Regions from separate parts of the Homo sapiens genome. Here all the other regions are linked to region 5. The links are contacts of gene promoters, found by promoter capture Hi-C in human tissues and cell types (Jung and others, 2019). All regions are on one chromosome and are shown on one strand. The core of a region is centred on a gene start or on the middle of the fragment in contact, and the rest is flanking DNA. Distances in the headings are between cores, read along the strand shown. Region 1 overlaps LOC105372762 (a long non-coding RNA gene). Region 2 has its middle 160 kb from the start of LINC01673. Region 3 overlaps LOC102724355 (a long non-coding RNA gene). Region 4 overlaps LOC105372762 (a long non-coding RNA gene). Region 5 holds the start of ADAMTS5 (ADAM metallopeptidase with thrombospondin type 1 motif 5). Region 6 has its middle 250 kb from the start of LINC01673. Region 7 overlaps LOC102724355 (a long non-coding RNA gene).

The links. Contacts are between HindIII fragments. The study calls those that stand out against the background at their distance.
Region 1: a fragment that was not itself captured here is called in contact with the fragment with the promoter of ADAMTS5 in region 5 in 1 of the 25 tissues and cell types used here (IMR-90 fibroblasts).
Region 2: a contact is called between a fragment that was not itself captured here and the fragment with the promoter of ADAMTS5 in region 5, in 4 of the 25 tissues and cell types used here (heart left ventricle, heart right ventricle, lymphoblastoid cells and 1 more).
Region 3: a contact is called between a fragment that was not itself captured here and the fragment with the promoter of ADAMTS5 in region 5, in 2 of the 25 tissues and cell types used here (dorsolateral prefrontal cortex and mesenchymal stem cells).
Region 4: a contact is called between a fragment that was not itself captured here and the fragment with the promoter of ADAMTS5 in region 5, in 1 of the 25 tissues and cell types used here (mesenchymal stem cells).
Region 6: a contact is called between a fragment that was not itself captured here and the fragment with the promoter of ADAMTS5 in region 5, in 2 of the 25 tissues and cell types used here (IMR-90 fibroblasts and heart right ventricle).
Region 7: a fragment that was not itself captured here is called in contact with the fragment with the promoter of ADAMTS5 in region 5 in 3 of the 25 tissues and cell types used here (H1 embryonic stem cells, aorta and mesenchymal stem cells).

The regions. Positions count from the first base shown.
Region 1 is chr21:27,438,274-27,440,973 of GRCh38, reverse strand. The region is part of intron 1 of LOC105372762 (a long non-coding RNA gene); the gene reads left to right. Among named protein-coding and RNA genes, the nearest start is that of LINC01673, 200 kb to the left of the region's middle. The HindIII fragment of the contact is 3,372 bases long and covers 1-2,700 here.
Region 2 is chr21:27,476,400-27,479,099 of GRCh38, reverse strand. No RefSeq gene overlaps it. Among named protein-coding and RNA genes, the nearest start is that of LINC01673, 160 kb to the left of the region's middle. The HindIII fragment of the contact is 7,074 bases long and covers 1-2,700 here.
Region 3 is chr21:27,313,316-27,316,015 of GRCh38, reverse strand. All of the region lies in intron 1 of LOC102724355 (a long non-coding RNA gene), which reads left to right. Among named protein-coding and RNA genes, the nearest start is that of LINC01673, 320 kb to the left of the region's middle. The HindIII fragment of the contact is 4,104 bases long and covers 1-2,700 here.
Region 4 is chr21:27,421,402-27,424,101 of GRCh38, reverse strand. All of the region lies in intron 1 of LOC105372762 (a long non-coding RNA gene), which reads left to right. Among named protein-coding and RNA genes, the nearest start is that of LINC01673, 220 kb to the left of the region's middle. The HindIII fragment of the contact is 8,330 bases long and covers 1-2,700 here.
Region 5 is chr21:26,965,690-26,968,389 of GRCh38, reverse strand. ADAMTS5 (ADAM metallopeptidase with thrombospondin type 1 motif 5) reads left to right here and starts at 1,302. Exons shown (of 8, transcript NM_007038.5): 1 at 1,302-2,700. The coding sequence starts at 1,999. LOC124905050 reads left to right here. Exons shown (of 3, transcript XM_047441063.1): 2 at 420-946; 3 at 1,306-1,734. The coding sequence ends at 1,734. The HindIII fragment of the contact is 10,779 bases long and covers 1-2,700 here.
Region 6 is chr21:27,386,337-27,389,036 of GRCh38, reverse strand. No RefSeq gene overlaps it. Among named protein-coding and RNA genes, the nearest start is that of LINC01673, 250 kb to the left of the region's middle. The HindIII fragment of the contact is 6,614 bases long and covers 1-2,700 here.
Region 7 is chr21:27,329,210-27,331,909 of GRCh38, reverse strand. All of the region lies in intron 1 of LOC102724355 (a long non-coding RNA gene), which reads left to right. Among named protein-coding and RNA genes, the nearest start is that of LINC01673, 310 kb to the left of the region's middle. The HindIII fragment of the contact is 3,443 bases long and covers 1-2,700 here.

The DNA of each region.
Region 1 (2,700 bases), core at 123-2,622, 470 kb before region 5:
TTAGTCACCTACTGCTTAAATCCTTGGTGGGAGGGGGATCATGGAGACAGGCAGAGGCTGGGGGTGAGTGCTTTGGGGTCTAGCCCCAAGGTAATGTCTACGAGTGGGTGCCTACAACCCCAAAGCTCTTTCAGCTTTGCCACCCACAGACAGCTTGAGTATTAATCAACTCAATGGACCCTCTGCCCTTACAAAAGGGCAGAGGGCCACTGTGAAAGCTTTCTGTATCCTGAGCTTTTGTGCATTATCCCAGAAAAAATCAGGTCACACTCGGGCTTGAAGGATAAATGTGAGATTTTGAGTGATGGAGGTGGCTTTCAGTAGGATGGAGGGGGAGCTGGAAGGTGGGGATCAAGTGAGAAGGTGGTCTTCACCTGGAGGTGGCTTTTGATGGGATAGATGGGGAGATGGAAGGTGGGGGATGGAGTGAAAAGGTGGTCTTCCCCTGGAAGAGGGTCACCCAGCAGCTGGATTCCTCTCCAACCACCCCCAGTCGAACTCCTCTTGGCATTCAAATGTTCCTCCTCTTCTCTCTTTCTCTGCCACATCATTCTGCTGTCCGTCCATCTGCTGATCTGCTGGCTTGCCTGGGTTTCAGGGATTATATGGGTGCAGGGTAGGGGGTATGGCAGGCCAAAAGGCAACTTTTGGGGCATGAAAACAGAAATGCCTGTCCTCATTTAGGGACTTGGGTCTTCAGGCTGGAGGGTAGGGCCTTTTCCAGGGAACAGCTCTCTTCTACACAGTATTTCCCTGTCTCCTGTGCATATCAATAGGGCAAATGTTCAGATTTCAGTTAGAATTAAATCTTTGCCTATATGTATTTCATTCCCAATTCATTTATTGAATTTATTTTAACTCATAATAAAAATTTTAAAGTCTATATTTATAGTCTAATTTTAATTAAAAACATCTACTTCTGTTTTATCATCAAGCTGCTAATTGGCCAGTTTATGATTGGGCAATGACAAACTTTAAGTTTTAGTATATTTAGGGAACTATGGTAAGAACGTTAGCAAATAACACTAAATATTATGTGATTTAATAATATTATTTAATCCTCGAAATCACTGTATGAAATAGGTTATATCATTTGTTTATTGTACAAATGACAAAATTAAGGAGCAGAAAGCTGGAATTTATCTCACCTAAACCAGACAACACAGTTGTTCCTTTGCTTTTGAAGGTTAACAAAAGCATAAAACCTTCCTAACTAAGCAAAAAACATGTAACTAGGAAACAGTTTAACTACTTTTAATATGTTTAAATATCACATTTAAAATTTTTGAAGAAAATAAATAACAGGCAATTCTGTTGGTCATTATTAGACTTATAAGTAGTTTCAAATGCTTCCAATACATTCAGCTTTAAAGCCTAAAAGGAAATTCTCTTGGACAGATTCCGGCTAAAGAGAAGGTAATGAAGTCATTAAACAAATTAACCAAACAAGTAAATAAACAACAAAAAACAGCACAATTTTAAAACATCTTCATATAGAATACATAGAACATTTTCATGTATTCATTGAACCAGTCTTTCATTCAACCAAACTATATTGAGTTCCCAGTAGAACTTAGTTCAGTTGTAGACCTTGGAATTACATTGACCAATAATGTAAGGAAAATGGTGACCCTCAAGGGAATATTGATACAATGTAGTAAATCAGTTCTAACTCTAAACATCTAAACATCTCTGACAATTATGCTTTCCCTTTTCTTCTCTGGATACTTGAAGCACATGCACAGAAAAAATAGCAAATGAGCGTGTTAACTGAGTCTTTAAAGAATACCCCATGTAAAAGTATTCTAGAAATCACATCGCAGTACATGACATAAGCCCCCAAATGTAGCAATGCTTCTTTTCTCCACATTCACAACCATAAGGCTACTATTGGCAATTCTGAAAAAAATGCAGTATGAAGCTTGAAAATGTAGGAAAAAAAGAGGTAGCTTTTTCTTGGGAGGGGAGTACAAACTTGTCTGAATAGACTCCACCCACATGTCCTGAAGTCTGAACAACCATATCAGCATCTGTATCCTGAAGAAAGACGAACTGAGAAAGAGGAGAGGAGAAGGCTACAGGCTGAGGGTGTTCTATGCACCATGCCTTGGGAGCCAAGTGCAAAGTCTCATATCTAGACTGGAAGGGTGTCCAGTTGGTAAAAGTTACAGGCAGAAGTGATATATGAATTGAGTTTTGAGATAAAAATGGGCTAGATAAACCATCCATGGATTGATGAGAAGGGAATAGCAGTCAGAAGGGGGCTAATTATCCATGGTCAGATCACAAAATACAAGGAATGTGTAACTAGAGATAAAGCAGGAGAGATAAGCTAAAAATGCACAATAAACAACTTTATATTAGAGAGTTTCAAGCATTTGCTGGTTGTACTGTCATTGAAGGAATTTAAGAACAAGAGTAACATGAGTCAAAGTATTTTAATTTTATTACCTTTTACACCTATATATGTCGTTTTCTAAAAACACTTATGTATATAAAGTTATTTCTAAAATATATTTCAATTTATAATAATTTTTAAAATTTCTTCAAATATGATATTAGTCTCAAGAAAGTCAGTGTCATATTTCACCTTGATTTTTCAGCTATTCAGCATGATTATGAAGTACATTTACATTAGAAATTCCAAATGAGTTTTGGCTTTCAAAATTCAAATCCACCCTTGAAAATGTTCATTTTTTT
Region 2 (2,700 bases), core at 25-2,524, 510 kb before region 5:
TGAGATGGAATAGCTGTGTTTTGTATTTGAAAAAAACATCAATTTGGGGAGCCAGGGTTGGAATGCTATGGTCAAAATTAGTCCCCCGAAATTCATGTGTTGGAAACAATCCCTAATGCAACAGTGTTGGGAGATAGGATCTTTTGGGAAGTGCTTAGTTCAAGAGGGCTCTTTGCTCATAAGTCAGTTAATTCCATTATAAAAGGGTTTAATGAAAGGAGTTTGCCCCTTTTCGCTTTTTGCCCTCCTGTCTTCTGCCATGTGAGGATATAACATTCCCCCATTTTCAAAAGACACAGCATTCAAGGTGCCATCTTGGAAGCAGAGACCAGATCATCATCAGATAAATGAACCTGCTGGCACCTGTGTCTTGGACTTCCCAGCCTCCAGAACACTGCGAAGATATACATTTCTCTTAAATTTCCCAGTTTGTGAAATTCTGTCTGGGAAGCACAAAATGAACTAAGACAATAGCTATAGTAACTATATAGATGCCTTACATGCTTTGCCCTTGAACAACATGAGGATTAGGAATACCAAACCCCATATGGTCAAAAATTCATGTATAAGTTTTGACTCCCCAAAAACCTAACTACTAATAGTCTACTGTTGACTAGAAGCCTATTGGTAACATAAACAGTTGATTAACATATATTTTGTATGCTGCGTGTATTTTATATTGTATTCTTACATTAAAGTAAGCTAAGAGAAAAATGTTGTTGAAAAAATCACGAGGAGAAAATATATTTACTATTCATTAAGTGGAAGTGGATTATCATAAAGGTCTTCATCCTCATCAACTTCATATTGAGTAGGCTGAGGAGGAGGCAGAAAATGGAGTAGTTGATCTTGCTGTATCAAGGGTGGCAGAGGTGAAAAAAAAATCCATGTATAAGTGGAGCTGTGCAGTTCAAACCTACCTTGTTCAAGGGTTTTGTCTTAAAATATGTCCAAGACATTGTTCTCTGTCAATGTTCTAAAAATAGATATTATTTTACTGACTGCAGTATTGTATGATTGAAGACTATTGAAACAATTTATTCCCTCATTAACTTGAAAATTGAAACAATTTATTCTCTCATTAACTTAAAAATTGAGACAATTTGTTCTTTCATTAACTTGTTACCCTTGAGTACTCCTTTGTCCTCAGTCTTAATAACAATGGAAAATGTCCCCTGTTTTAATCTTTAGTGACCTCATTGTAATATAATTCATAAACATAATGCAAAGTACTAAGATGCTTAGCCATACTGATTTTTTATTTCTTCCTGTGATTTACTAGTTCAGTTTCTTTAACCACCTTAGTGGATTACTTGCACTTTCCTAAATAATTCATAAAAGGGAGTTATTTATATTAAAGATATTGACTATTTGTACACAATGCAAAATTTTTCCTATTCTTGTCTTTTGCTTTCTTACTTGATTTGATATGGTTTGATAAGCAAACATTTTTAAACATTTAAATCTGTTGAACTACAATCCTTTCTCAGTTCAGTCTTTGGTATCATATTAAATAAGCCATGTAAGTTTGCATATGGTTTCAGTTTTATGTTTAGATCTTTAATCCAATTGGAATTTATTTTGTGTAAAAGTTGTGAAATAGGGATATATCTTTCCTGTCATGTCCTCCCAAGTGTATACTTAATTTTCACCATTCCACTTATTGAAAAATTCATGCTTTCCTCATTTTCGAAATGTCATTTTGGTATTTTATTAATTCTGATACACACAGCTGTATTTTTCAGAATTCTTAACTGGATTATTGTGAGCTATTTGTCATTCGTATCTTAGTATCACATTCTGTTATTATGATTGAATCTGGTAAAATAATTGCCCCCTTAGCCCCACAATTTTAATAAATATTCAAAACCCCACTCTATAGAAACCTCTAACTAGGGAGATACATTATATGTGCCTACTATGTGTCAAGGACTGTGTACAACTGAAACAGATTTGACTCATGAATTTTACACTCATGATAGGCTGTAGTACTTTATTTTACTCTTAAAAATAACAATAGCAGCTTCTCTTTTATACTTTTATAAAATCTTCTACTGATTTCAAAGCTTTTTTTTAATTAAGAAGAGAACCAATTTTAAAAATGCACTGTTTTTCTTAGATAATATCTAAAAGCCCAGAAGAAAAAGAAATTCTTCTTTTGTAGGCAACATGATTAGCCACTAGAGGAAGTAAGTGTTTTGCATTGCTGGGCAGCAGCATAGGAATTGACTTATGAAAGAAAATCACTGTTAACGTTTATTCTGCCTAGTAGAATGCCTGGCAGTTCTAGAAGAGAGGCTTTGAATTTACAATTTTGTAACTTAGTGATTGTATATAATGACAGGATTTAAATAACTATATTTGACTGAAAGTAGTTATTAGAAGTTCCTGATAGTACATGAAAGGAAAAAAATACTGTCATCTCAACTAGATCATATATCTTTAATTAACTAATTCATAAAAAATAATTCCAAATGTATTTTACTATAAACAATATATTACAATTAAAATGGAATTCTCTGGAGAGCTGATAACCAGAAAACTTGTTTTTGCCATAAAATGTCAAAAATAAGTTAAGAACTAAAGTGTTATTTTTTTAATTGTAAACATTCCTTTGTAGAAAAACTGGTCTTGGAGGCATTCAAATATGCATGAGGACACATTGAGAGAAAATGAAGAAATATGTGCTTTTTTGTGCTT
Region 3 (2,700 bases), core at 174-2,673, 350 kb before region 5:
TGGAGCCTGAGCCACCTCTCCCTTCAGGTGCAGAGATCTTGGTGCAGTGGAGCTTTCTGTGCTGAAAGCCCAGATATATCTCCAGGAATTTGGAGTACCCACTCTTCTTGATGTTGTGTTTAGGCCATACTCCCCTACCTGTGCAGAAAACTTGGGGCAGTGGAGGTTTTCCAACTCCATGCCTAGGCACACTTCTGGGCATTTGGTGGCTGTGCACTAGAATCCCCCAACACAGCTGGTGCTTGTGCCTGCCATTATGAGACATGAGGCAGGCCTGTCCAGTCGGGCCCTGCCTACCTTGGTCCCCCACTCTGGAGATAAGTAGGGAGCTCAGAACCCTGTGAATTCCACAGTTCAACCCATTGTCTTGGGTAACACAGAGCTTCCCATAGTAAACAAGGATCAAGTATTAGTGTATACCCATCCCGATTGGCTGCAGCCAGTTCTAACACTACAGCACCACCCACTGGCATGGAGGTTGAACCCCACAAAACAAGAGGAAATCTGCTGACACAAATGCATAGCTCTGGAAAATGTGATAAGCTTCCTGAGCCTACTCACATGCCTAACACATTGCTACTACAACAAACATTTGAGAAAGCCACCATAGAAAGGCTTCAATAACTAAGGAGTTTTTCCAGACTCTTTACCACTGAAAACTCCCAGAAACAAAGTAAAAGGACCTTATACAACATCATACATTGTAGACACCTCCTCAAGAAGGGAAAAAGTCCTTTCCAAAGTAAAGCAAAATCAAAAAATATGAAGGAGAGACAGCTTATCCAGATGTAAAAGAACAAGAGAAAAAACTCCAAAAGTATAGGAAAAAACAGTGTTACAACACCCCCAAAGTGAAGCAGTAACTCTCTAGCAATGGATCTCAAACAAAATGAAATCTTTGAAATAACAGATAAAGAATTCAAAATACTGATTTTAAAGAAAATAATTGAGATCCAAGAGAAAACTAAAACCAACATAAAGAAATCAGAGAAAAAATTCAGGACATGGAAAAGGAGACAGGCATCGTTAAAAAATAAAAAGAATTTCTAGAAGTAAAAAAAATTTTGAAATAGTTACAAAATACAGCTGAAAATTTTAACAATAGGCTAGACCAAGTGGAAGAAGAATTATAGAGTTAGAAGACAGGTCTTTCAAATTAACAGTGAGAAACAATTTAAAAAAATTTTAAATAAACAAAGACTTCAGGATATATGAGATTATGTAAAACATCCAAACCTACAAGTTATACATAATTACATAATGACAGAGGAAGAAGAAAACAAAGAAGAAGAAGAATGTATGAAAAACCTATTTGAGGAAATAATTTAAGAAAACTTCCCTAGTCTTGGGACAGATTTAGACATTCAGATACCAGAAGCTCAGAGAATTCCTAGAGATACATTGCAAGAACTTCACCAATGTATATAGTCATCAGACTATCCAAAGTCAATGAGAGGGGAAAAAAAACACTCTAAGAGCATCAAGAGAGGGGTCTAATCATTTTGAAATCCTATTATACTAACAGCAGAAATCTCAGCAGAAACCCTATAATCCAGAAGACATTAAGAGCCTATTTTTAGCCCACTTAAAGAAACAAAAAAGCCAGCCAGGAATTTTGTGTTCTGCCAAACTAAGCTTCATAAATTAAGGAGAAATATAACCTTTCCCCGACAAAGAAACACCAAGGGAATTTGTCACCACTAGACCAGACCACCAACAAATGTGCAGTCTACACATGGAAATGAAAGAATGACCCACACCATCATAAAAGATGACAGAAATACAAAGCTCACAGATAACATAAAGCAACTACACAATGAAACCACAAGGCAACTAGCTAACAACACTATGATAAACATAAAATCTCACCTATCAACATTATCCTTGAATATAAATGACTTGAATGCTCTACTCTAAAAACATAGAGTGGAAACTGTAAAAAACAAAACAAAAGAAGACAAAACAAAGAAAACAAACAAAAATTCCAGAACTCAACCATCTGCTGCATGTAAGAGGCTCACTTACTGGCTAAAGGCAGCTGCAGACTCAAAGTAAATTAGAAGAAAAAAGATATATAAACAGAAAACAAAAGTGAGCAGGAGTAGCCACTCTTATTTCAGATTAAACAGGCTTTAAACCAACAACAGAAAAATAAGACAAAGAAGGGTATTATATAATGATAAAGGGTTCAATACAACAAGAAAATTTAAATATCTTAAATACATATGTACCCAACCCCAGAGCACCCAGGTTCATGAAGCAAATACTACTACATCTAAGAAAACACTATTGTATTGATAGGAATACAATAAGGGAGGACTTTAACATCCCAATGACATCACTAGACAGAACATTGAGGCAGAACATCAACAAAGAAACTATGGATTAAACTGTACTATAGACCAAATGGACCTAATAGACATTTAAATAACATTCTATCCAACAACCACAGAATATACATTCTTCCCACCTCCACAAGGAACATTCTCAAAAATCAACCATATATTTGGGCCATAAAGCAAGTACCAATAAATTTTCAAAAAATCTAAATCATATTAAGTATCTTCCTCAACCACAGTTTAATAAAATTAGAAATTAATACTAAGAGGAAGTTTCAAAACTACACAAGTGCAAGGAAGGTTGCTCCTGAATGACTTTTCTGCAAACAATGAAGTTAAGACAGAAATAAAAAAATTCCTT
Region 4 (2,700 bases), core at 164-2,663, 460 kb before region 5:
GTATTTAAGGTGGTAAGTCTATAGTGATGTGTTATGTACAGCAGGACTAGAAAACTAATAAAGGCAGACAGTTGAACACAGATATGCACACGCTCACACACACATATTTTTTAACACTTCAAATTAAGGAATATTGATGCTTAATTGCGGTGGCAACTTGACCTTTGAGCTCCCAAAGCAGACAAATTAGGCACACCTAAATTGCAAGCCTAAATCTTAAAATGAACAAGTATCTTAAATATACCACTTAATATTCTGTATGTTCCCCATCTCTCTTCACTCATAAACACAAAGCAAGAGTAGGTACACAGTAAAAGAAGAAATTTGTACAATTTCTCCTCTTTTATTTATTTAAAGAGTTTTTAAGAGGAAACAAAATATATACAAATAAATAACTTGATAGTGACTTTTAAAACCATGGCACATAGCATCATTAAAAGCATCCTTGAAAGCCTTAACCACGGTGTCATGGTGTAAAATTATTTATGTGCATTTTTACCTCTTCTCCCTTGGGTATCATCTTCTCCTAATCTGGGAACATGGCACATGCAAAGAGCATTTTACCAGGAAAATCAAAGCTCTGAAAATGTGCAATGGAAAAGAAAACATCTTGGAATTGCTTTTATTTTAGTGCTGTGATAAAAAATTTTTTCCAGTCACCCTCATTGATGTTCAGATGATTGAATTAAGTTGAGACATTCTGGTCAGGAGGTGAAAACAACCATGGGTGTTATTGGCTCCCATCGGAAAGTTCACTGTCCCAACATTACATGATCCCTGAGTCAAGCCCAAAACATGCGCCACGCCGTCCCTGTAGCTCAGAGCTCACCAGCTGACCACAGCTGGAATTTGTAGGCCAGTAGAAAGCAGGGAAAAGGAGGTAGGCACTGAGCTGTTTTGTAGCCTGGAGGAGGCCTGCAGTTGCCAAGGATAATAGCATGGCAAACACTTTGCTACTGACAGCCTGGATTCAACTTTCTCACCATAATTCTGCCAAGCAAGGCTGGTAAAAGTTCAGAAAGCACTACTAGGAATAATTAAAGCAATGGAGGATTTATTTTGTATGGAGAGATTAAAGGAATTTTACATGTGTTATTTGGCTGTGCAAACATGAAATGGGAATACGAAAATTATCAACAAATATTTGGATGGTTTAAATTATTGGGAGGGAGATGTGAACGTTAAATAATAAGGCATGATATTGTGCCACCATGCACCCAACCTAAGAGAAATACATTTGAAAAAAAACCATTTCAGATGAAAACTTATATAAAAAGGTACAAAGATTAAACACTATATTCCCATATTAAGGAAAAGATTAAAGGATATCATCAGAGTTTTCCAAGTCTTAGTCAGTCCCTCTGAGATAGGTGGCAGGATGTAAACACAGTGCTGTTTTTTAGACAGAAAGACTCCGTGTGTGTGCCTATGAATGCACTTAGCATTGTATCATGGGGTAAGCCAGAATGTATTTTTTTTTAACTTTTATTTTGAGGTAAAGCTGATTCATTGTGTCCATAAGACACTCATAAAACACTCTTGCCATTTCCAGACAAGCTGAAAGCTGGTACAGCATTAGCAAGTTACTGCTGAGAAAGAGATCATGTGTCCCTCAGAAGTGTGTGCTCCATCAATTCCCCCCAAACTAGGTGGCAAAGCAGATTCATTTTTCTCCTAATCATCTTGCTCCAGTGCGAAGTTCCTCATCCTTAGTGGGGAGTAACAGATATGCTGATGTAAAAAACGAACAGGCCAGTCACAGTGGCTCACACCTGTAATCCCAGCACTTTGGGAGGCTGAGATGGGTGAACCAATTGAGGTCAAGGAGTTCAAGACCAGCCTGGCCAACATGGTGAAACCCCATCTCTACCGAAAAAATACGAAAATTAGCCAGGTGTGGTGGTGGGCGCCTGTAGTCCCAGCTATTCAGGAGGCTGAGACAGGAGAATCCCTTGAACCCAGGAGGTGGAGGCTGTAGTGAGCTGAAATTGTGCCACTGCACTCCAGCCTGGGGCATAGAGCAAGATTCTGTCTCAAAAAAAAAAAAAGTGTTTTATTTTCCTTACTTTCCTACAACTTCCTCAGCATATAAAAGAATACACACAGTAACACTGGAAAGCCGAACAGTAGAGGGTCCCCACGACAGAGCAAAATTGCATGAGCTGAGGTCCACAACCAAGTTTTTACCTCTTCCCTCTCCTCCCATGGGTACCATTCCACTGGTTACATCATAAGACACTAGGGAATATGGTTGTTGTTTCCTTGGGTAATCTGTTCTCAAGAACTTGCAAAACGGACCTCAGATTAGCATGCCACCCATCATTTAAAAGCCAAGAAAAACAATAGTTGGCTTCCAAGTAAAGACAGGAAGATAAGAAAGAAATCAATTTTAAAATTTCAGTTAGGAGCAATAAGTTCAGGACTCAGTGATCATACTTAACAGCAATGTACTATGTGCCAAAAGGGTAGATTTTAAGTGCTGTCACCACAAAAATGGTAAGTGTGTGAGGAAATGGAATATGATAATTAGCCTGATTCTGCCATTCCATAGTGTCTAGATATATACCCAAGATATATGTTGGATATATATTGTACATGTTGTACAGCATAAATATATACAATTCAGCCGGGCGTGGTGGCTCAGGCCTGTAACCCCAGCACTTTGGGAGGCCGAGGCGGGCAGATCACGAGGTCAGGAGA
Region 5 (2,700 bases), core at 53-2,552:
CTGAAGAATAATTTGGGCATGGAGGGAGCTCTTACCCCTACAGTAGAAGGTAGACCTTCTAACCATAAGTCGTCGGGTTTTCCTTCTCCCTTCTTAGAATGATAATTAGAGGAAACAAAGAGGTCAGAGGAAACGAGTAGCAGTGATAATGTCACCCGCGTACTAATAAGCACCAATCTTCCTTCCGCCAAAAGTATTCTTTTTCTTCTAAAAGGAATTTCTGAGAATGAAGGTAGGTCAAGGCCTATGGCGATAAGTGGTTGCTTTAGAAGAGACAAAAACAGATATAGGAATTTATTATTAAAGTATCATTTAAGCAAAAAATAAAAGTATGAGCGCAAAATTTTAAAATCTTTCAGGGAAAAAAAATGAGCGGAATTCCCTCTAAGAGTTAACTCTTTCTCGCTCTGCCTTTTTAGAGCAAAGGAAGTTCCAGTGGGCTGGGAGTAAGGGACAGATTGTGGACCCTGACGAAAGGCGTGCTGGAGAAAGCTGGGAGCCCGCCGTTCGCACACAAAGCTGCGGAGTTCCCAAGCGGCGGGCGTTCTCGCCCCGGGGTACCGCAGCGCGCCAGGAAGCGCCCTGGGCTCTCTGGCTGTCCAGCCGCTCTGCTGGTGGCCGGGAGAAGTTAGTCACCCGGAGCCCGAATCCGGCGAGCGTCAAAGCATCAAGAGGCTGGAGAATGGGGAGGGAGGAAACCGGGTGCCGGGACGGAGGGGAGGAAGCGAAGGGAACGCGGTGGTTAGGGGACGCACGGGAAGCTGAAAAGCTCTGGCTGGTGGATGGAGTTGCACGGTCTGCGAGGCCAGAGCGCACGGGTGTGCAAAGGGGAAAAACTTGCGGCAGGAACTTCCCACCGAGGGCGAGAAAAGCAGGCAAGAAGGAGGCAGGGAGAGACTTGAAACGTCTCAATAACTTTAACCAAAACACCCGTTCAGGAGATGAGGTAAGCCAAGGTTAGCCAACCCCAATTGGTTGTGAAATATCAGACAGACCCGGAGCCGCTGTGGCTTTAAAAGTGGCCAAGGAAATCTGTTTTTCTTGCCCCATTACTTTTTATTTTCCCCTCTCCCCTCCTACCACCTCGCCGGGTCCCAGTCCCTTCCTCCTACTTCGTCTCCCTTTCCTCGATCACCCTCCTCTTTTGCCCTCCCCCATCTGATTAGGCGCGGACTGGGAAGGGTGGGAGTGGTGGGGGAAGCTCTCCCTTTAAGAGGCAGCGTGCAGTGACGAACTGTTGAAATTGCCATTGCAGGATGGCATGCCGCTATAAATTCATTGTTCCACCTCCTCGCATCTTCACAGCGCTCGCGCTGCTCTCGGCGCTCGCAGCTGCCGACTGGGGATGACGGCGGGCAGGAGGAGACCGCAGCCGAAGGGACACAGACACGCCGCTTCACCAGCTCGCCTCAGGCTGCCCCCCTGCATTTTTGTTTTAATTTTTACGGCTTTTTCCCCTCTCTTTCTTCCCTTCCTCCTGGTCCCAGCAGAGCCAAGGAAACCCACAAAATAAGAAAGGAAGTGGGCCCCGGAGCTTGGAACCTCCACAGCCGGCTTGTCCAGCGCAGCGCGGGGGCGGGAGGCTGCGCGCACCAGTTGCCAGCCCGGTGCGCGGTACCTTTCCTTACTTTTCTTGAAACAGCGATCGTGCCTGCATTTGGTGGTTTTTTGGTTTTTGTTTTTTTCCTTTTCCCGTATTTGCTGAATCTCCACTATCCGACTTTTTTTTTTTAATCTTTTCTTTCCCCCCCCCCCCACCCCACCTCTTTCTGGAGCACGAATCCAAACATTTTCCCAAGCAACAAAGAAAAGTTCGCACGCTGGCACCGCAGCCCGGACAGGCTGGCGCTGCTGCCGGGCCCCCCTCCCTCCGACACTTGACTCAATCCTGCAAGCAAGTGTGTGTGTGTCCCCATCCCCCGCCCCGTTAACTTCATAGCAAATAACAAATACCCATAAAGTCCCAGTCGCGCAGCCCCTCCCCGCGGGCAGCGCACTATGCTGCTCGGGTGGGCGTCCCTGCTGCTGTGCGCGTTCCGCCTGCCCCTGGCCGCGGTCGGCCCCGCCGCGACACCTGCCCAGGATAAAGCCGGGCAGCCTCCGACTGCTGCAGCAGCCGCCCAGCCCCGCCGGCGGCAGGGGGAGGAGGTGCAGGAGCGAGCCGAGCCTCCCGGCCACCCGCACCCCCTGGCGCAGCGGCGCAGGAGCAAGGGGCTGGTGCAGAACATCGACCAACTCTACTCCGGCGGCGGCAAGGTGGGCTACCTCGTCTACGCGGGCGGCCGGAGGTTCCTCTTGGACCTGGAGCGAGATGGTTCGGTGGGCATTGCTGGCTTCGTGCCCGCAGGAGGCGGGACGAGTGCGCCCTGGCGCCACCGGAGCCACTGCTTCTATCGGGGCACAGTGGACGGTAGTCCCCGCTCTCTGGCTGTCTTTGACCTCTGTGGGGGTCTCGACGGCTTCTTCGCGGTCAAGCACGCGCGCTACACCCTAAAGCCACTGCTGCGCGGACCCTGGGCGGAGGAAGAAAAGGGGCGCGTGTACGGGGATGGGTCCGCACGGATCCTGCACGTCTACACCCGCGAGGGCTTCAGCTTCGAGGCCCTGCCGCCGCGCGCCAGCTGCGAAACCCCCGCGTCCACACCGGAGGCCCACGAGCATGCTCCGGCGCACAGCAACCCGAGCGGACGCGCAGCACTG
Region 6 (2,700 bases), core at 159-2,658, 420 kb before region 5:
CCATCCCATTCTCAAGAGCTGTGTCAGGGATTTTAGCTTTTCCTCTTGCAGCTTTATTGTTTTAAGACCTGCTCCTCACCTTTAAGCAAACATTTCCACATCCTGCCTAATGTAGACACGCCTTTAGAGATAATAACTGGAAATTACAGTTATTTTGTGTCATCAGTCTTGGTGTTTGAGATATCAACTTATAAAATTTTAGGATACAATAGCCAAAAAATGTTAAATGTAATTATCATTGGTAGCTATATGCAAATTTTTAAACAGAATATAAATTTTATTTAAAATATAATAAAATAGGAATTATTTAGATTAATTGTTCTTAAATAGGTTTTTAAACAATTGTATTATATAATTGGTGAATTAGACTACACGATTATTAAAATTATAAAGGCATCTTATTAAATGACATTTCAGCCAAAGAAGGCAGAAAATAAATGGTTACTGAAAATGTGTCAGACATAGCGATAGCTTCCAAGCTAAATTCTTCATTAAGAATAAGTTTAACTTACACTATTTTCAAGTTCAAATAAAGTACTTGTTAGCTACTAATGGACAGAAGATTGATTTGAACTCAGAAGTCTGTGGGCCCAAAATACGTACATCTTCCACTGTTACTTTTGAAGATTATTTTTAACACAATGCAGCAAGTAGAACATTTCTGAAAATCAATTTGGTATCAATTTGATCTTAAGGTGTGTCTAATATGCTGAAGGAATATTCCTCTTCTGGAACCCTCTAAACACTGTATTGTACTAATACTTGAAAAAGAAAACCAGGGTTCCCACTTGACTCTATTATTAATTTGCTGTGCTATCTTGGGAATACAACTTATTCACTAAGGACCCCTTCTGTGTATTACTAAAGAAGCAAAATTAATGTACTCAGTTTTACAATTAAATTTTTATTTGTTAATAAATACTATATAACTATAATACTATATAATAATACTATATAACTATATATACTATATACTATATATACTAATAATACTATATAACTATAGTATTATTATGCTCATATTTTGGTTTAAGCATTAGAGTAAGAGAGAAAATGTATTTACATTTCTGTAAAACAGATTTTCTTACACAGAAAACCTATATCTAAACTGAGACTCTTCTTCAGTGACCAAGAAAAATAAAGGTTTGCATATAAGGACATGAGTGTGATAATTATCCTAGCTAATTAGCAACCCTAAGTTGGGTAGATGGTAGATGGCAAGTTCTGATGAAAGGTGATCAAAGCATAGGTCTAACAGATTGGAAACTTATAAATTTAATTGATAAACTTTCCTTTTCAAACATAAAATAATTATTTAATTTTTTTAAATATGACAATCTACTTGATCACTATATGGGAAGCCATCCCATACTCACATTGATATCTTTGTGGATTCATCTCAGATGTATGTAGGGAGGCATCTTCCATTTCTTGATCCTAGCGGTCCCTGTTAATCTTGTTTACCTGTTACCCGAGTTTTGCACAATAAAGGGCATATGTTGATTGCCTTTTCCCACTCAAGTTGATATTTTCCTGGCTCTTCAAATTCTGAGTAATTTTGATTTGTGTCCTAAACAATAGATATTTGAATGGTATCAGATTACTCATTAGAAAATGTCAAGACCAGAAGGAAATGGAACAATATTTTCCCAGCTTTATTGAGCTATAATTGACAATAAAAATTGTTTACATTTAAGATATATATAATGTTTTGATGTCCATACACATTGTGAAATGATGACCACAATCAACTTAATTAACGTATCTATCACTTTACATAGTTACCTACTTTCTGGGGGGGAGCAATATTTTTAAGTTCTAAAAGGAAAGATTATCAACCCAGACTTTATCTATGTAGTGAAACTATCTTTAAAAAATGAAAGTTAAATAATGAAATTAAGAAAATTAATTGCTAGCAGATCTTTACAAAGAGAATCATTAAAGGACTTTTTGTTGTTGCTGTTGAGACGGTGTTTTGCTCTTGTTGCCCAGGTTGGAGTGCAACGGCGCAATCTCGGCCCACTGCAACCTCCACCTCCCAGGTTCAAGCGATTCTTCCCCCTCAGCCTCCTTAGTAGCTGGGATTACAGGCGCATGCCACCACGACCAGCTAATTTTTTGTATTTTTAGTAGAGACAGGGTTTCGCCATGTTGGCCAGGCTGGTCTTGAACTTCTGACCTCAGGTGGTCCACCCACCTCGGCCTCCCAAAGTGCTGGGATCACAGGCAAGAGCCACCGCGCCCAGCCTTCAAAGACCTTTAGACAGAATACCAGAGGGAAATTTGAAACGTTAGTAATGAAAGTAGAGCAACATAAATGGTACTATTGAGTAAATGTTATAGACTATCATTTTCCTCTGGAGTGTTTAAAACATGTTTGAGAGTGGAAAGAAAATTATAACATTGTTGATAGTATTTTAGTTCTACGTAGTTGTAATACGTAAGACAACTCAAAATAAAGGAGGATAGAGACCCAAAGGCTGGTAAGCTTTCTGAATTCCACATGCAGTGGTGAAATACTGATTTTAGTTGGGCATTACAAATATAAGTATAATGTATATTTGTTATAGTAGGAGTTAGACATGAGCAGGGCAAGAGAAGCACCCCTGTGTCCCCACCAGGAATGTCAGGGAACCATTAGATGATGGGCAGGTGGTATTTACACTGGTTCTCTCAAATAATAATTGGCTGCAGCTGGCG
Region 7 (2,700 bases), core at 9-2,508, 360 kb before region 5:
CTCTCAAATGATTCCGCATATCATAATCCTAGCGATTAAGAGAAGTGGTGGTGAAACACTGGCTTTTCACTTATTTTGGAACACATGAAATTATTTTATTCATTTTGTGATGCTGCTTTAAAATTTAACATCATGCTGAGTAAATACAATACATATGCATATAGGATTTAACTTTCAACTTTGGACAGTTTTAGAATCTCTGCTGTACAATTGAACATAGATATTGCCATGTATATTTTTTAAGCAAACAAATTGGAATCTATAAAATAGTTTCCATCTAAAGAATTTCAAAGTAAATTTAACTGACCACAACATTTGTTGTCACAACCAGACAGGGTAAGAGCTTTGACTAGTTTAGTTCAATTATAAATAATATAGCTGTTACAACAATTTGAGAAACACTTTGTTTTTGCTCTGCCCATATTATTATTTCTTTAAATCAAACGTTTATCAAAGACATCAGTGGAAAGCATTTCAAATAACTAAATATTTTATATACGTACATCATCTTAAACTAAAGTGATGATTAAATGCTAGATTGTTTTTTAGAAAACTTGAAATGCTTTAAAAATTGTTTTAGAAAGCTTTAACAGTTATGTAAATATATTTTCTACCACCTTCTAAACTTACCCATATTTCTGAGATGTGGGTGTACGTATTTTGAGGAATACTAACTGCTACCTACATATGCCCTCTGCCAATAATCTCATCTTTGAGTATACAAATTTATAGGACTCTGAACACGGCTTCAAAGCTCCTTTATTTTCTGTATTTCAAATTAAAAAGTGACTACACTATTCTAAACCATTCATAACAACTATGGCAGCTTTTATTATTATTATTTTTATTATTATTTTTAAGCAGAAACATGAGTCAGTCTGACAATAACCATAGACGAATGAGGTAAGCCTGACATTTATTTAGTAACATTACTGAAGAAAGACTAGCAATGGCACTTTTCATCTGACAAAGATGTTTCATTTTTTGTTTTTGTTTTTATTTTTTACAACATCTGTGCAAGAACCTCCAACAGTGAGAGGTTTAATTATGTGAACTGTAATATGTCTTCTAAGATTGTTATTCTCTGATTGTACTGAAATTCTTTTAAAACAAATCACAGCACAAAAGAACCAAACACACACACAACACACACATACACAACACATAAGATTAACAAGCATATATATTCTTCATCTGTATGTTATTTTAACTACTGTGGAAGTAAAGTTCTTTCCAGAAAACACACAATCAAAAGAACAATGCTAGAATTTCTTCCAATGAATTCAGTATTCTAATAACAAATCTAAAGAGGCTCTATTAAGTTTTTCTTAATATTAAGGGTCTATTAAGAAGTCTGTTAAGGCCGGGCTCGGTGGCTCACGCCTGTAATCTCAGCACTTTGGGAGGCCACGGCGGGTGGATCATGAGGTCAGGAGATCAAGACCATCCTGGCTAACACGGTGAAACCCCGTCTCTACTAAAAATACAAAAAAATAAGCTGGGCGAGGTGGTGTGCGCCTGTAGTCCCAGCTGCTGGGGAGGCTGAGGCAGGAGAATGGCGTGAACCCGGGAGGCAGAGCTTGCAGTGAGCCCAGATCGCGCCACTGCACTCCAGTCTTGACAAAGCAAGACTCCGTCTCAAAAAAAAAAAAAAAAAAAAAAAAAAAAGAAGTCTATTAAGATAGTTTTTCAGAACACAATACATAAAAATAGAGTGCACATTATTGCATGCACACACATGCACATATTCACTCTCATACCAAAAGTCTTCAGCGATCACATCATGGTGTGTGTGTGTAGTTTTCTCTGCCTTGCAGTTTCAGTTTCATTATTTTACAATACATTCTGTTACGGAAGGAAGAACGTAATCTGGGTCATTGATGGAATGGAATAATCGTCATGTCAAACTAAAATGCATCATGCAATGTAAAGAAAGATGGCTTACTAACAGAAGGAAAGTGATGCAGCTTCCTTCCAATTAGATCCTAATGAAAAATGTAACATATGCAGTATTTTGGAGGATTTATTATGAGTTAATTAGAACATGTTGTGTAGGAACTAATAATGAATAACTCGAAAGGGTTTATAGTCACAGCTCTGTGAGTAGCTGTGAATACTAAAGTTCAGCAGCACTAATCTCAAAGGAAATAGTAGGAGAAGGAATCTAAGTTGTCATTGTGATGAAATAAAATAGTCGCAACTGCAGCTGGACCATTAACTAATATTGACTCTTGCTCTAGAAGCTGTCAGAGCTCTGCATTGAAACAGCTGGGAATGTTCTGTCAGGGAGCCACGGGAGAAACATTTTACTTGGGTTGAAATTCAAAACTTGATATTTGCTAAAAACATAAGAGCCATATGTTTACTCGTGAGTCAGACAAAACTAAACATAACTTTTTCAGTGTATTCTAGAATGTTTTCTTTTTTCTTTCATCACACATCTATTAAGCATTTACAAAGTGACAAGCACTGTACGTTCCCAAAAGTGCACAAATTACACACCAACCCTGCTGTTTTGGAAATTGCAATCTAGAAAACATCGAATTCATCATTTAAAGGTTTTTATAAGAATGGTGATTAAAAAAAAAAACAAAGCCTCATTGGTTGAGTAGGCTAACTGCTTTAAAAACAGATCCAAAGAGATAGAGGTGGAAGCAATGGAAGTTTTGATCCCATTAATATTTTAATCTTGGGCAAAGT